Regions from separate parts of the Homo sapiens genome. Here regions 1 and 3 are each linked to region 2. Evidence: promoter capture Hi-C in 16 types of primary human blood cells and fetal thymus (Javierre and others, 2016). All regions are on one chromosome and are shown on one strand. Each heading gives the region's core, a stretch centred on a gene start or on the middle of the fragment in contact. The rest is flanking DNA. Distances are from core to core; before and after follow the strand shown. Region 1 overlaps LOC124901002 (a long non-coding RNA gene). Region 2 holds the start of LINC01386 (long intergenic non-protein coding RNA 1386). Region 3 overlaps LOC124901002 (a long non-coding RNA gene).

Region 1 (3,779 bases), core at 991-3,490, 250 kb after region 2:
ACTTCTGAGCAAAGGGATTTCGCTTCTTGGTGGGGCCTCTAGGCAGAGCCAGTTCTTGGCACCAATAGCATTGCCTGATGCTGTAAAACACTAAATCTGGACAGATTTACACAGAACAGAAGCTTTCATTTCACCCTTCAAATTCCAGCCAAACAGGATTGGGGACTTTTCTATGTTCCAGACTCCCTGAATGTTTTTCCAGGTTGTGTGGTTGAGTTCCAGCCTACAGCAGCTCAACCAGAATCACCACATTATTAGGCACAGAAATGAGATCTATGTCCTCATATTTTTTATTGTGTCCACATTGTGAAACAAAGGCATTTTAAAGATGCAGCTACTGGGACATTAATGAGACAATGCATGTCTATGTGATGAAATAGCAATTTGGAGATGGGTTTTACATGTCAGAAAGAAATATTGTTTTATTTGTAGTCCTTTACTTGCAACTGTCTTCACAGTTGTTTATTTTTTCTAAATAATATTTTTATGAAGACAAAAATTAATCAAGAAGCCATTCAAGATCATTTTTCCAGACACCACATGAATGAAGCTAACTTCTTTCCATTAGGACAGGCATAGATTTTCCTCTAACTTTAAAATAAATGACTGCTATTTACACTGGTAGAGAGACCACTCCGAAAGCTGTTTTCCTCTACTGTTAATGAAAAGTATACTATATTTCCCCCAAATGAAACTTAGAATTATTTAACTGGACTGCCAGGTGTATCACTATTAATAGTGTTTAAGTACATTTTGGGAGAGGTGGAAGGGCTCCTCTGCTACACCCTAGATGTACTCGATACATAGAGTTATACTCTCAAGATGCTTATAACTTACCACAAATACAATTCAGGACATACGTTGTGAGACAAAAAGCAAAGGCATTTGCATGATCAGAGTTAGGACAGAGAATGGACTAAAAACATATCTCCTTGGTGCTAAATTCATTCATAGCTGGTAAGATAATTAAGGACATTTTTTTCCACATAAATTTAGTCACATATGTTTGAAGCTTTGTGCAACTGTGGCATGTACCGATACTTCTGCAGAAACCCCTCTAAAGCACCCAAGGAGCCTGAAATATTAAGGTAGCCCCCACATCTCCCTTCTTTTACAGGACATGCTTGTGAAGAATAGCGGAAAATACAACGTACTGAGTTAGACAAATATTTAACTTGTTCCACGTCCAAGGTAAATCAGATTTCAGGCCAACATATGGGCTCCAGTTCAGGGCCCGAGGCCCAGGCCTCAGGTTAGGCCTGGGAGTAAATGATGTGTATGGTCATTGTCAGAGACTCTGGCTGGGCCAGGCAGACTTGGGTCACCCACCTTCCCACGGACCATGGAGGGACTGAGCTTTGCCTTACGCAAGAACCCATCACAGTGTAGAGCTCTCTGAGGTAGGCCCTGCATGGCTGGTCTAGAATCCGAAGTTAACCTCTTACTTGTCTGAGTTCCTTTAGGGCAGGCACTATTATTTATTAGCTTGAGGTTCCTTACATTCAGCACTATGTCTGGTACATGGTAAGCACTTGATATGTCTGATAAATCACATCAATCATTTAGGTTGCTGGTGAAGAAGACCACTTAGTTAGGGTCTTTGGATCTTCAGATGGCTTCAGACCATCTAGATGTGTTCTGTACTACAGTGGCCTCTAGCCACAGGTGGCAATTGATGCTTGAAATGTATCTAGTCCAAATTGATGCAGGCCGTAAGTGTAAAATACATTCTGGACTTTGTAGGTTGTCTTAGTAAGTCTAGGCTGCTATAACAAATTACCACAGACTGGGTTGCTTCAGCAACATTGATTTCTCACAGTTCTGGAAGCTGAAAGTTCAAGATTAGGGTGCCAGAATGGTTGGGTTCTTGTTGAGGACCCTCTTCCTGTTTACATCCCCACATGGCCTTTCCCTGGTGCTTGCAAGAGGGGTGGTGTGGGGGTGGGCTCAAGGAGGGAGAGATATATCATGTCTCTTCCTTTTCTTGTAAGGGCATTAATCCTATTATGGGAACTCCATCCTTCTGACTTCATCTAAACCTAGTTACCATCCAAAGGTTTCACTTTCTAATATCATGACATTGGGGATTAGGGCTTCAACATAGTAATTTTGGGGGCAGTGCAAGCATTCAGTCCACAGCAAGGAGATTATAAAATCGGAATGCAAAAGTCTCATTAATAATTTTATATTAGTTATATATTGAATGATACTTTGGGTATATTGGGTTAGATAAAATATGTTTGTGGAAGCCAACAAAAAATAAACAATGGGGGAAAGGACACACTATTCAATAAATAATGGCTGGGAGTATGCTGAAGAATGAAACTGGACCCCTATCTCTCACCATATACAAAAATTAACTGAAGATAAATTAGAGACTTAAATGTAAGACATCAAACTATAAAAATCCTATTAAAAACCTGGAAAAACTCTTCTGGACATTGGCTTAGGCAAATATTTTATTGGTAAGACCTCAAAAGCAAATGCAACAGAAACAAAAATAGACAAATGGGACTAAATTAAACTAAACAGCTTCTGCACAGCAAAAGAATCAATCAACAGACAACCTATAGAATGGGAGAATGTATTTCCAAATTATGCATCTAACAAAGGATGAATATCTAGAATCTATAAGGAACTAAAATGAATCAACAAGAAAAAAATAACCCTATTACAAAATAAGCAAAGGACATGAAAAGACACTTTTCAAAAGAAGACATACAAGCAGCCAGCAAACATATGAAAAAATACTCAACATCATTAATCATCAGAGAAATACAAATTAAAACCACAGTGAAATACCACCTCATATCAGTCAGAATGACTATTATTAAAAAATCAAAAACTAACAGATGTTGGCTGGCAAGGCTGCAGAGAAAAGTGAACACTTATACACTGTTGGTGGGCATGTAAATCAATAAAACCTCTATGGAAAATAGTGTGGAGACTTCTCAAAGAACTAAAAGTAGAGCTACCATTCAACCCAGCAATCTTATTACTGTGTATCTACCCAAAGGAAAAGAAATTGTTATACGAAAGTGACACCTGCACTTGTATGTTATTGCAGCATTATTCACGAGAGCAAAGTCATGGAATCAACCTAAGTGTCTACCAACAGTTGACCGGATAAAGAAAATGTGGTACTTAAACACCACAGAATACCATGCAGCCATAAAAAACAATGAAATCATGTTCTTCACAGCAACATGGAGGGAGTTGGAGACAATTATCCTAAGTGAAACAACTCAGAATCAGAAAATCAAATACCACATGTTCTCATTCATAAGTGGAAGTTAAGCAATGAGTATGCATGGATCTAAAAATGGAAGTAATAGACACTGGGGACTCTAAAGGTGTGGGGGGATGAAGGCTGAAGAACTACCTATTGGGTAGTTTACTATTTTGGTGATGGTTCACTAGAAGCCAAAACACTTCAGCATTATGCAATATACCCATGTAACAAGCTTGCACATGTATCACCTCTGTCTAAAATTTTGTTAAATGTATATAAATAGACATTAATGTATGTACACACATATTTGTGGTAGGTAGCCTCTAAGATGGCCCCTGCTGAGCTCAGCCTCCCAGTAGTCATGCCCATATGTAATTCCCTCCCCTAGGCTCTAGGCTAGGCTTAGTATTTCAATACTAACAAATGACTATGACAGAAGTGATGGGCTGCAGCTTCCAAGCTGAGATTACAAAAAGACTGCGGCTTCTATCTTGGGTGCTCCCTCTCTCACTCATTAGCTTGCGCCACCTCTATCTCTCTTTCTATC
Region 2 (3,510 bases), core at 23-2,522:
CTCCCAAGCAGCTAGGAATACAGGCTTGAACCACCACACCTGGCCAATTTTTCTATTTTTTGTAGAGTTGGGGGTCTCGCTATGTTGCGTATGCTGGTCTTGAATTCCTGGCCTCAAGCAATCCTTGTGCTTTGGCCTCCCAAAGTGTTGAGATTACAGGCATGAGCCACTAGGCCCAGCTGAGAAAATAACTAGACAGTCATTATTTATTCCGATATTGTTGATATTTTTTCTTTTCAGCACTTGACATATTTATTGATAGTTGAATAACTTTTGTAGGATTAAATAGTAAAATATATATCATTTTAATTTAATTCTCAAAGCTCAAGTCACACACAAAAATACTGAGGATCAAATATAGACAATATACTCAAGGCAGCCGATAACAGCCAATAGGCACAAAAAGGCCACCTCTAATGGACTGAGCAATCAATTGAGAAGTCCCCCAGTCACAGCCATCTACTCACCATAGTTTTGGTACCAATCTAGAATACATTTTGTGTATCTGCTATGTCAATACCAACCCCACTGAGTTGGGAGTCCTTGAGGGGCAGGCACTCTTTTGATCACCAAGCTGGTTTCTTTGTTTGGATCCCTGCAATCTGTTGTTGAAATGAGGTGTCCAGATTTGAATATAGTATTCTGACACAAAGTGGAGAAAAAGGTTATCTCTTCCCCTTTTTTAGACAGCATTTATCTAGTAACACAGTCTAAGATTGCATGGGGTGAGGAGTAGCCTGAATGGCTCTCTAAAGTCTGTTAGTAGTGGGCCAGGTGTGGTGGCTCTCACCTGTAATCCTAGCACTTTGGGAGGCTGAGGCCAGAGGATCACTTGAAGCCAGGAGTTCATGATCAACCTGGGCAACACAGTGAGACCCCTTCTCTACAAAAAATTTAAAAATTATCCAGATTTGGTGGTGCATGGCTGTAGTCCCAGCTACTAGGGAGGCTGAGGTGGGAAGAGTGCTTGAGCTTGAGAGATCAAGGCTGGGAGTGAGCCATGATTGCACCACTGCACTCCAGCCTGGGTAATAGAGCAAGACCCTGTCTCAAAAAGAAAAAAAAAAAGGTCTATGCATAGTGAACTGAAATCCCTAAGCCTTTCCTTACATATCCTGCTGTTATGATGAATTGTTCCTGGAACATAGGTGTGACTGGCATTCATACTTGTTACATTTCATTATTAGAATCTCCCCATTATTCTGTCATGTTGAGATATTTAAAGATTCTGATTCTATCATCCAATATATTTATTCATTCATGTATTTATACTTGCTTTTCTAAAGATATTTTCATAAAAGTTAATAAGAACAGAAACAAAAAAATCAGTATGAGGAAAAGAAGCAAAATTTCCAGTTCCTAGAGGTAACATATGTGCTGAGTTTGGGCATGTGAAGTGTAAATCTAAGCTTTACCTTAAAAGGGAGGATTATATTCTTCTTTATGCATCTTCCATTGCCGGGAGAGAATGGGTCTAAACAGGTTGTCTTGGGAGTTATACATATTTACTTTTTCAAAATAAAATACACTTGGCACCTGAGATTTAACCACTTAATATATATCAGCATACACTGTAAATTGTAAATATAACTGGAAAAACAGAATTTTGTAAAAATGCAAAATATGGTCTTTTTCATGCCCATAATACAATAAAGCATTTTATCATTTTGACCATATTAACTTATGTTAACAGTATGACATCAAACACGGAGTCAATGAGCAGCACAATTTTGGGGGAAAAAAGATCTTACTACTGATATTCTCTATAATAAAGGGAAGAGAGTGTTTTTGACTTGAATTTTTTGGACATTTGGCCGAATCCTTTACTCAGTGAGAATTGACTTGGCTTATGAGAGTTAATTCATACCATTTGGAGGCTGAAGCAGTTATAAAGCTGCTTTGGAATGTCCTAAATTGGGCCTAAGAGACCTGTTTTTGACAGATGCGCTCATGTAGTCCAGTCAATTGGCATATGGAATTTTAATGTACAAGCTAGTGCAAAAGTTTCTACATGTAACATTTATTAGTGCTCCTAGTGGCATGGAGAGACAGATGGTACACACATTACATGCAGAAGCGAGCTTTGCAATTGGCCTTACAGGCCCAATTTTGCTCAGTTACCTAGGTCCCTTAACTGCACCCCCATACTCCCCACCCCCACACACGTGTGAGAGCCCAAATGCCCAACCCTTCCATCTCTCCTGCCCCAGAGTCCACTATGGGAACCTCCCTTTCCTTCCAATTGCTTGACTTGAGATCTCCCTTCTTTCTTGCCCTTTCTTTGGCCCAGATCCTCACCTCCTCTGGATTTTCACATCCTCCAGCTGGTCCAGCATGAGCTCTGGAGGCTAAGGTAGGGAAGAACATTGCCTTACAGCTGTTCTCAGTCCCCACCCACCCCTAATATTAGTCTTGGCAACATTCATCCCATTTCCTCACATTTATCCCAGACTCCTCTCCTGACATCTCAGCTCTAGAAATGAAATGCTCAGGTCTACAAGAGCTGCAGAGAGATCTTCTGTCCCAGATAGTCCCAAAGAAAACTCAGGGGTGGGGAAAATGTCTTCCTTCCTTCTCTGTAATATCTAAATGAAATAGCAAAAGAGGGGAGTGCTGGGTGGAGCCTTTTTGCCTTTTCAGTCCCTGCCCCCTTCTCTGTTGTTACTGGCAATACAGACCCTTAGAAGCTAAAAAAAAAACCTTAAGGATGTGTGTGTGTTTTTAAAAGGTATGTCTGGGGAGGCGGAATGCTGAGTCTGAATTCTCTTCTTCACTGGCCCAAAGAGGAGAGAAATTCTGTTCAGAAGTTACTAAGGGCCAGCTGCTGTGGCTCAAGCCTGTAATACTAACACTTTGATAGGCTGAGATGGGCAGATCCTTGAGCCTAGGAGTTGGAGGCCAGCCTGGGCAATATGGCGACACCCCACCTCTACCAAAAAATACAAAAATTAGCCGAGCATGGTAGCATGTACATGTAATCCCAGCAACTCAGGAGGCTGAGGCGGGAGGATCACCTGAGCCCAAGGAGGTTGAGGCTGCAGTGAGCCATGATCATGTCACTACACTCCAGCCTGGGTGACAGAGTGAGATCCTCTTTCAAAAAGAAGAGAAAAGAAAAAAGAAGAGAAAGGAAAACAAAAGAAAAGGAAAGAAAATAAAAGAAAAATAGCTACTAAGAGTGGCAATGGTAAAGGAAGTGGGTGGGCTGGGTGACTGAGAGGCAGCTTGGAGATTCATTAGCAGGAAATCCTGACAGTCGGCAACTCCTGGAACCTTCATCCCAAAGAGGCTCATTTCCTCTCTGCTCCATTTTTTGGGTCTCCATCCAGATCTTCACCCCAGTCTTACCGTAGTCTCTTCCCTTCTCTCTTTATGTAGGTGTGTGTTGGATGGAGGGATATAAAGAGAGAGGATCCCCCACTTCATTATAGTGGTGGAAGGGGAGGGTGGGAGCTGAGGTATCATAGAATTCCAGATGTATATTCTCCTAGAAATACTATAATACATGAC
Region 3 (3,836 bases), core at 297-2,796, 220 kb after region 2:
ATTGCTTGCTACCTGTGCAACTCCAGGCAATTTCTCTAACTTTTCTAAGCCTCAGTTTCCTCAGTTCTAAAATAGGAACCACAATATGACCTGCCTCCTAAGATTATTTTGAGGATTAGAGAGCTAATTGTGTAAAATAGGCTGGCATGTTGCGAGCACTCGGTAGATTTTTTGCTGTCATTATTAATTTCACACATGCCTCTGTGTTAAGAACTGGGGTCACGAAGATGAGTAAGATGCAGCTCCTGGGCCCTGAGAGAGTTTGCCATCTCTCGGGAGAGAAAGACCAATGCAAACTCATGTCTAATCCAGGCTGTAGGAGCAATAGGAACAAACTGTTCTGAGCTTAGTAGAGATGGTGAGTTGTCTCCAGTGGGAAAAAGTGGAACTAGGGACATGAAAGGCAGGTGACTTTTGAGCTGAAGCTTGAAGAATGGCAGGTGGACAAACCCTGTAGGGGGAACAAACTGCAAGCAGAGGGAGTTCATGGTGTCACCAACAGACAGTATTTCAGAGTGGCTGTGTTTAGTGTTTGCGAAATGAGCCTTAAAGGCAGATTGGGATCAAATTCTGAAGACCTATGAAGGCAATATGGAGGGTTTTAGTCATGTGACAATGGGGGCCAACCACCAGAAGGTTGGTAAGTGAGACAATTGGATCTCTAACTTAGAGCAATAATCCTGACAGTAGCATGCAAGACAGGGATGCAGAATGGAGATGCGGGACACAGGGGTGAAGACTGGACCAGACATTTCATTCATTCATTCATTCAGCAAATACTTTTTAGGCACCTACTAATGACAGACAGTTGATGCTGAGCTGCAAGAGCGAACAGGACAAAGTCACTGCCCACATAGTTAGAAGGCAGTTGCAATAGACCAGGTGAGTGAGTAGGAAGCCTGAGCAGACCAGCAGCCGCAGGACAGGAGAGGAGAGGTGGAACAGGAGAGAGATCATGCAGGTCCAACCAACAGACATGGGGACAAATATCCAGATAAGACTAATACCTCAGGCAAAGAGGAAAATTGTATGGGACCGCAGGCACCAAAGGGGTGTGTATCGGAGAGACCACATGTGCCAACCACTCTGCCTTCTCTCACTTCTCTCAATCTCTTGGTGTCTCCAAGCTCCTTCCTGTGAAAGGGTCTTTGTGCATGTCATTTCTTCTATTTTTAAATTTGTTCATGATTGGCTCTTTCTCATCCTCGAGAGGCCTTTCTTGACCAACCCATCTAAGTAGGATTCTCATTGACCCCTACCATCACAAACTGTCCTGCTTATACTTTTCATAGTGTCCATTTGTGAGTGTACTCCCTTCCCACCAATATAAGTCCATGCAAGTAAGAGATATGCCATTAGCTCATTGCCGTATCCCTGGCACCTTGCACAGTATCTAGCCATAGCAGGCAGCCAGTAAATATGTATCGAATAAATAAAACTCTATTTCAGGCATCACTTGTCTAAAGCAGAGGAGGAGACTGCCCTGCTGGAGTGTGACATTCAAGACTTGGGCCCATGACTTGGCAGTGGCATGTTGAGGACGTTGAACCCTGATCTGGGCAGAACGTACTGATTGGCCCACAAGATTGCAGGTGAAAGAGACACATGGAAAATGCTAACAGAAAATGACAAATTGCGAGTTGGGCATTTATAAACCATAAAACATAAGGAAAAGTGTGCTGTATACTCATTTCCTCCATCCTGCCTATTCCTCCATGTATCCCTATGTTGCCCCATAGACCTCTGAAGTCTGGGTGACTTGGTAGTGATACCGAAGAGGTGGGGAACTATTTGGTAGCCTGTATTTGCCATTTGGTGTATGGAGTTGTCTTAGTCTGGAATCACTTGGGTTGTAAGTGAGAGAAACCCACCTAGAGAGCTGAATACAATGGATAACAAGCAATCTCACAGGCATCCAGGGCCAGAAAGCCAGTGACATCTGGCTACAGGGACCTGAACTGGGGCTCTTTCTCTGTTCTCCCATTTCTCTGCACAGAGCAGTTTCTCCTGCTTCCCGTGGTCTACCCCTCATGACTTCAACTTGCTTATGGACTGACTCCAACCCTGACTCTGTATGACCTTTATTTGGTCCATCACCATCCATCAGCCGGCTGACTCAGTCTCTCTTTCTCCAAACATAAATGCTCTGGGGAGGAAGATTAGCTCAGCTGGTCTATAAATGGGCTCCCCCCTGGGGCAGGTGTTTGTTCTTGGTCCAATCATCTCAGGCCAGATCTCTGAGTAAAAGAGGCAGCTGGGACTGGGGACAGGGAAGTTAAGGGAAGTAGACCAAATAAAACAAAATTCCCTTGAATGTAACTTTTGCACTACCCCACCGCTAGTTGTACAGTTTAAAGAGCCTCAATGATGTGAGAGGGAGAGAGTCAAAATAGCATTACCATCATTTAACAACAGTTTCTAATATTACCCAGACCTTAATAAGACCAATGAAGTCTTAGTTAAAAATAGTAACTAAAGTTTACTAAAGCAATATAATATTCTCTGTTATTTAAGCAAATCCCATTCAAACCTTCTAGAGCTTCTTTAAGATTATTTATCCTAAAATAGCTTTAAACTCCCTGAATGACTCAAATGGAACAGATCAAGTAGCATTTCATGTGCCTTAAATATGACATGAATTCTAAGTGATTCTTATGTTTAAGCTTTTTAAGTGAAATATATTGCATGTTATATGCGTTTGTTCAGTATGCATGTAGATCATACAGTTTTGTAGAGTTAACCAAAACTCTAATGATGAATTGTAGTCCAGAGTTTCTATAAGTCTGCTTCTTAAAAATTGCCTTGGAAAAGAATGGCTGAAGTCACCTATTAAATTAAATCATAAAGATACCACAGAGTTCAATTAAGATACAAAGTTTAGGGATATCATAATTTCTGCTCCCTTAACGATACACCCACAAGAAAAATAAAACATTACTGAGGTGGATAGTTTGTCTGGAAGACTAGAAGTTACAATGTTAATATAGTTTGCCTGACCCAAAGTGAAACCCGGTTCTCATGCACTTCCATGAGCATGAACGGTGATGGAATGTCCTGAACAGCAAATGGCACTCTCATCACTAATCAAGTCCTGGAATCTCACCATCAATAGCCATTCTACCATCTTGAAACAGATCCTACTAGTAACCCAATGCTCCTGGAAGAAGGAAGTAAATTAAGCAGAGAGAACAGCGTGGCTGGAGTTACACAGGAGGTTTGAATCTCAGCTTTGCTGATTGCTGGTTGTATTCTCGAATAAGCTACTTAACTCTAGTTTTCTTATTTGTAAAATGGGATAACAATATCCACCCCGTAGGTTTGTGGTGATTGAAAGGAATTTTATATATTAAAAAGCACCTGTACATAGTAGGCACTCAATAAATGGTAGTTATTACTACTATGAAAGAAAAAAACAAAGGTAGGTCCTTTAAGGTTCCAACACTATTTACATTAAAACCCTCTGGATTATGGTTTCTGTGTGGTTCCCAGGTGGCTATATGTCTGTGCCAAACCTCTTCTAATCCCAATCCATGTCCTGTAAGCACAGCACCTTCCCTCTTGCCTCCAAGAGTTCATTTATACCATGTGAGCCACTTGATCCAAATGCCTCTCTACCTGCCCACCTATCATCTTCTGAGACACAGCCCAAGCCACACATGCAGTGGTGGGCTAGGAAACCAGCTCCCCAGAACAAGCCCAGATCTGCAGAGTTTGCTGATTGCCATGATGTAAATATTCCCACCACGGCTGACTTCAAGCTACCAAAGATTTAACAATTGGCTAACAAAATTCCTGATTATTCTCCCTAAGTGTGAGAAGTCACTTAATGACTTCCT

The links. Contacts are between HindIII fragments. The CHiCAGO score rates a contact against its expected background, and 5 or more counts as called.
Region 1: a fragment that was not itself captured here is called in contact with the fragment with the promoter of LINC01386 in region 2 in 1 of 17 cell types (endothelial precursors); the score reaches 5.7 in endothelial precursors.
Region 3: a contact is called between a fragment that was not itself captured here and the fragment with the promoter of LINC01386 in region 2, in 1 of 17 cell types (endothelial precursors). The highest score is 5.8, in endothelial precursors.

What each region holds. Positions count from the first base shown.
Region 1 is chr5:73,225,772-73,229,550 of GRCh38, reverse strand. The region is part of intron 1 of LOC124901002 (a long non-coding RNA gene); the gene reads right to left. Among named protein-coding and RNA genes, the nearest start is that of TMEM174, 54 kb to the right of the region's middle. The HindIII fragment of the contact is 2,452 bases long and covers 1,015-3,466 here.
Region 2 is chr5:73,470,728-73,474,237 of GRCh38, reverse strand. It overlaps LINC01386 (long intergenic non-protein coding RNA 1386), which reads left to right and starts at 1,272. Exons shown (of 5, transcript NR_126410.1): 1 at 1,272-1,365; 2 at 2,291-2,353. The HindIII fragment of the contact is 6,957 bases long and covers 1-1,411 here.
Region 3 is chr5:73,249,130-73,252,965 of GRCh38, reverse strand. All of the region lies in intron 1 of LOC124901002 (a long non-coding RNA gene), which reads right to left. The region is part of intron 1 of LOC105379031 (a long non-coding RNA gene); the gene reads left to right. Among named protein-coding and RNA genes, the nearest start is that of TMEM174, 78 kb to the right of the region's middle. The HindIII fragment of the contact is 2,238 bases long and covers 428-2,665 here.